Linked DNA regions of Homo sapiens: region 2 is linked to region 1. The links are contacts of gene promoters, found by promoter capture Hi-C in human tissues and cell types (Jung and others, 2019). All regions are on one chromosome and are shown on one strand. The core of a region is centred on a gene start or on the middle of the fragment in contact, and the rest is flanking DNA. Distances in the headings are between cores, read along the strand shown. Region 1 holds the start of EFTUD2 (elongation factor Tu GTP binding domain containing 2). Region 2 overlaps FMNL1-DT (FMNL1 divergent transcript).

Region 1 (2,800 bases), core at 162-2,661:
TGCCACCTGCTGGGTGCTGAATGTAGAGAGAGAATTGGAGCTCCAAGGACCAATAATTAAATGTAAATTATTATGGAAACTTTCACATGCATATTCTTTTTACTTCTAAAAAGCTACTATCGCATTTATGCTTATCTCATTCTCCCAAGACCCCAGTCAAGGGATTGAAGAAATTATTTATTTATTTTATATATATTTTTTGAGACAGAGTTTTGCTCTTGTTGCCCAGGCTGGAGTACAACGGCACGATCTCAGTTCACTGCAACCTCCGCCTCCTGGTTTCAAGCGATTCTCCTGCCTCAGCCTCCCGAGTAGTTGGGACTACAGGAGTGCACCACTACGCCTGGCTAATTTTTTTGTATTCTTAGTAGAGATGGGTTTTCACCATGTTGGCCAGGCTGGTCTCGAACTCCTGACCTCAGGTGATCCGCCCGCGTCTTTCTCCCAAAGTGCTGGGATTACAGGCGTGAGCCACCGCGCCCGGCCGATTGAAGAAACTGTTATAGAAAGCTGTTCATGGAACAAGCCAAGCTCATTTCTGCCTCAGGGCCACTGCACTTGCCTTTCTCTTTGTCCAAAACGCTCTCCCCTTTGATATTTTTCACCTTGTTCCTTTATTTCAATCAAGTCTCCACTAAAATGTCATCTTCTCTGTCACTCTAAAAAGTCCCCCATACATACTCTCCAACTTCCCACTTTCACTGTTTTATTGCTATTCACAAATGTTATACATTTATCACTAGCTGACTTGTATCTAGTTGTTTACTGTTCATTTCCCCAACTACAATTGAAGCAAAGACTTTGTTCACTTAGTACTGTGCCTAGCATAGACTAAGCCCTCAATAAGTATTTACTGAACTAATGAATGACTCTAACAAGGTACACAGAATATAGCTGATTTGCCCACAGTTACACAAAACTAGCGACTCATGGTAACAAACCTCACTGCCGCTTCCCGCTACAATGCAGGAGCTCAGAGGACTTCGGAGGGAACTTGGCAAAGAACGGCTGAAAGCGGCACGGATAGAAGAGGAAGTGAGCGAGGGGACTGGACAGTTAGAGCACCACTCCTACCTAGCGATACGATTTTACGGACTGAGGCTATAGAGGCAGCCCCGAAATCGAGGTGTGTGCGTGTGTGCGCGCTTCGGAAGCCTTGGGAAGGCACGAGGACGACAGGGTCTTCCATTCTTTTTCCCGCTCCAGGCCTCAATTTACCGATCCGTAAAGCGAAAGGGGCCAATAGCATATAAGGCCCCTTCCAGATCTGACGCTTTTTAATTTCCTATCCCACCTGGAGCAACCCTTCCGTGCCGCTGACCCGCTTCAACTTACCTCTCGCCTGCTCAGCTAAGAGTTCCCAGGCCGCTGCCGGAGATCGTGCTTCCGCCCCACGCCGAGGAAACGCCTGCGCCCGCCGCCAGGAAGGACCCCGCAGACGCCGCTGTCGCCTTTCTGCCCGGGAGGACAACCCTCTGCCTGAGGACCAGTTCCGAGGTATGCCCGCCGCGGACTGGCAAGGCGGAGTAGCGGGTCCCCAAGACGAGTAGCCCAAGACGTGGGCTGCTCCAAAGAGGGTGAGAGCTGAGGATGAACGAATCTGATCAGGCGCCTCGGGACCACCCTGAAAATGGGGGGAGGGGCCTTCGGGCAGATCACGTGGTCAGGCTGTTAGCGCAGTTGCTAGGCAACCACAGCTGCGGGCGTGGTCTGCGCGGGGTTGCCCTCCTGTTCTGGTTTATCAGGGGATCCCCAAAGAAAGCAAGGGGACCAAGGCCGGGACTGCTGGGGTGAAGGTCCGGGAGGCTGAGTAAGGGGACGGAAGGGTTAGTTCTATGTATTAAATGCCTGGGGAGGGCTGAGAACTGGACACCTGATTTCGGTTACTGGCCACCCCAGCCCCTTCTTGGCGTTCAGATTCCCTACGTTGGGGTAGGGTGGCTATGGGATTGGTTGGGGACTTCCTGCTTCCTTGCGCTAGGGCTGTTGGTGATGACCCCGCCACAAAATCTAGCTCAACTCACTAGGAGTTTGCAGTTCAGAGAGGTCCCACAAGTAAATGCCAGAGCCACGACTAGAACCCACGTAGAGAATCTCTCTGCAGTGGCTCACGCCTGTAATCCCAGCACTTTGGGAGGCCGAGGCGCGCGGATTACTTGAGGTCAGGATCGAAAATTGCTTGAACCCCGGAGGCAGAGGTTGCAATGAGCCAAGATCGCGCCACTGCACTCCAGCCTGGGCAACAGAGCCAGAAAAAAAAAAAAAGAAAAGAATATCTCTGTAGAAATGATCAGTCAGCCTCAGATATGCAGAAACTACAGAAGTACAGTGATAGAACTAAAGGCATTGCCCAGGTACCTAGGGACCTCTGTTCCAGCCCTGGGCTGGACAGAGGGATTTGGGGATGGGGTCATTGAGCTCCTTCCTTTGCCCCTTCTACTTGATTTCCTGCTCAGTCATTGCATCTGGTTTGGGTGAAAGTCTCCTTCCTCATTAAAGACATTCAATGAAGAATGAAACTTTATCCCCGAGCTCAAGGGTAACTAACAAGAGTTCTGCCTTTGTGTGAGGTCCCCTGTCGAAACGACTTGCTGTAGAACAATCCTATGGGGGAAGAGTGAAGAAACTGAATTCTGAGATCCCAATGCCTCCTCGACTGAAGCACCAAAATTAAAAATATTTTTAGAGGCAAAGAGCAAAATTAAGACAGAACTCCAAATTGAAAGTCAGGACTCTGTATTCTATTTTCAGGGACAAGTCTTGTGTAAGTCCTCACTGTGAAATTCAACTTGTCTTTGTA
Region 2 (2,800 bases), core at 96-2,595, 310 kb after region 1:
AGGTGGCCCCCTTAGTCCACTCTCTCCTCTTAGCTCAGCAGCTCTGGGCAGCTGTGAGTCCCAGTCTATTTGGCTGCAGATTGGATGGGACCTCACCTGCCCTAGTTTGTTTGTTTGCTTTTTTAAGATGGAGTCTCGCTCTGTCGCCCAGGCTGGAGCACAGTGGCATGATCTTGGCTCACTGCAACCTCCACCTCCCTGGTTCCAGTGATTCACCTGCCTCAACCTCCCGAGTAGCTGGGATTATAGGCACCTGCCACCACTTCTGGCTAATTTTTTATTTTTAGTAGAGGTGGGGTTTCACTATTTTGGCCAGGCTGGTCTTGAACTACTGACCTCAAATGATCCACCTGCCTCAGCCTCCCAAAATGCTGGGATTACAGGCATGAGTCACCACACCTAGCCTGTTTATTTTTTGAGACAATTTCTCACTCTGTCACCCAGGCTGGAGTGCAGTGGTTTGATCACGGCTGACTGCAGCCTTGAGCTCCTAGGCTCAAGCGATATTCCCACCTCAGCCTCTTGAGTAGCTGGGACAACAGGCACACACCACCATGCCTTGCTAATTTTTTAGTTTCTATAGAGACAGGGTCTCACTATGTTGCCCAGGCTCATCTTGAACTCCTGGTCTCAAGTGATTCTCCGCCTTGGGCTCCCAAAGCAGTAGGATTACAGGCAGGAGCCACTGCAGCCGGTCCCCATCTGCCCTACTTTTTGTAAGACTTAGGGCCTTGAAAGAAATGACTACATTTTCCTCTTCTGGCTGGGTTGTCAGAGCTGTTTCAGACAGACTGACAGACCAGTAAAGGTGACAGCTGTGGTTTGTAGCCTCTCAGGTCAGTCAGACACAGCCAGAGTGAGAGAAGTGACCAAATGTCTCCTTGGCAGACCGTTTCGAAGATTAAGACACTTAATCTAAGATTAAGATTTGGAGGCTAAGTGTGGTGGCTCATGTCTGTAATCCTAGCACTTTGGAGGCTGAGGTGGGAGGATCACTTGAGGCCCAGGAGTTGGAGACCAGCCTAGGCAGCACAGGGAGAATCTGTTTCTACAAATAATTAAAAAAAAAAAAAATTAGCTGCGCATGGTGGTGCACGCCTGTAGTCCCAGCAACTCAGGAGGCTGTGGTAGGAGGATTGCCTAAACCCAGGAGGTGGAGTCTGTAGTGAGCCATGATTTTGTCACTGCACTCCAGCCTGGGCAATGGAGCAAGACTTTGCCTCAAAATAAATAAATAAATAGGCCAGGTGCAGTGGCTCACACCTGTAATCCCAGCACTTTGGGAGGCCGAGGCGGGTGGATCACGAGGTCAGGAGATTGAGACCATCCTGGCTAACACGGTGAAATCCCGTCTCTACTAAAAATACAAAAAAAAAAAATACAAAAAAAATTTTTTGAGACACTCCATCTCAAATAAATAAATAAATAAAATAAGTAAAAATATAAACATTTGTTGTTAACCAAGAAACTCCTCCTGGCCTCCCTCAGCTGTCCCCTCAGAGGCACCATGAAAAGCAAGAGGGCTAACGTGGGTTTGAATCCTGGCTCTGCCACTTTATAAGTGGGTGACTTGAGTTACTTCATCATTAGCAGCCTCAGTGGCCACTAATGTAAAATGAAACTAGAATAATCTCCAGTTCACAGGGTTTCTGTTTGTATCTCATCCTTTGGATTCTCTCTTCCCAGACTCAGTGATCACTCTCAAACTCAGCCCTTGAATTTTTGTTTTTTTTGAGACAGGGTCTGGCTCTGTTGGCCAGGCAGTGCAGTGGCACAATCATGGCTCACTTCACCCTCTACTTGCCTGGCTCAAGCAATCCTCCTGCCTTAGCCTCCTCAGTAGCTGGGACTACAGGTGTGCACCACTACACCTGGCTAATTTTTAAACTTTTTTTTTTTTTTTTTTGAGATGGAGTGTCACTCTGTCACCCAGGCTGGAGTGCAGTGGCGCGATCTTGGCTCACTGCAACCTCCGCCTCTCGGCTGATTCTCCTGCCTCAGCCTCCCGAGTAGCTGTGACTACAGGTGCACAGCACCACAGCTGGCTAATTTTTGTATTTTTAGTAGCGATGGGGTTTCACCATATTGGTTAGTCTGGTCTTGAACTCCTGACCTCATGATCTGCCTGCCTCGGCTTCCCAAAGTGTTGGGATTATGGGCATGAGCCACCGCGCCAGGCCTTTTTAAACACTTTGTAGAGACGGGGTTCCACTGTGTTGCTCAGGCTGTCCTCGTACTCCTAGGCTCAAGTAATCCTCCTGCCTTGGCCTCCTGAGTAGCTGAGACTTTGGGTTTGTGCTACCATGCCTAGCTAATTTTTTTTTTAATTTTTAGTAGAGACAAGGTCTTGCTATGTTGCTCAGGCTGGTCTCTAACTCCTGGACTCAAGCCGTCCTCCCACCTCAGACTCCCAAAGTGCTGGGATTACAGATGTGAGCCACCACAACTGGCCAGTCCTTTAGTCTTTACCCCTCCTCCTTTGACCTCAGAACTGACTATTGCCAAGTTTGTCCTGCAGATACCTTCCCTCCAAGCAATTGCTGCATATTCATCATCCTCACCTTCACTTCCATTTTTAGGGCACTGTGTGCTCAGAACTTTATACATGGCTTTTTTTGTTTGTTTTTGAGATGGAGTCTTGTTCTGTCGCCCAGACTGGAGTGCAGTGGCATGATCTCAGCTCACTGCAACCTCCACCTCCCAGGTTCAAGCGATTCTCCTGCCTCAGTCTCCTGAGTAGCTGGGACCATAGGTGCCCGCCAACATGCCTGGCTAATTTTTGTATTTTTAGTAGAGACAG

Evidence for each region. The method cuts DNA at HindIII sites, captures the fragments that hold promoters and counts their contacts. A contact is called where the count stands out against the background at its distance.
Region 2: a contact is called between a fragment that was not itself captured here and the fragment with the promoter of EFTUD2 in region 1, in 1 of the 25 tissues and cell types used here (spleen).

Annotation. Positions count from the first base shown.
Region 1 is chr17:44,898,034-44,900,833 of GRCh38, forward strand. EFTUD2 (elongation factor Tu GTP binding domain containing 2) reads right to left here and starts at 1,412. Exons shown (of 28, transcript NM_004247.4): 1 at 1,336-1,412. It overlaps DNAAF19 (dynein axonemal assembly factor 19), which reads left to right and starts at 1,696. Exons shown (of 4, transcript NM_213607.3): 1 at 1,696-1,826. The HindIII fragment of the contact is 11,041 bases long and covers 954-2,800 here.
Region 2 is chr17:45,206,460-45,209,259 of GRCh38, forward strand. All of the region lies in intron 2 of FMNL1-DT (FMNL1 divergent transcript), which reads right to left. Among named protein-coding and RNA genes, the nearest start is that of FMNL1-DT, 14 kb to the right of the region's middle. The HindIII fragment of the contact is 8,026 bases long and covers 1-2,800 here.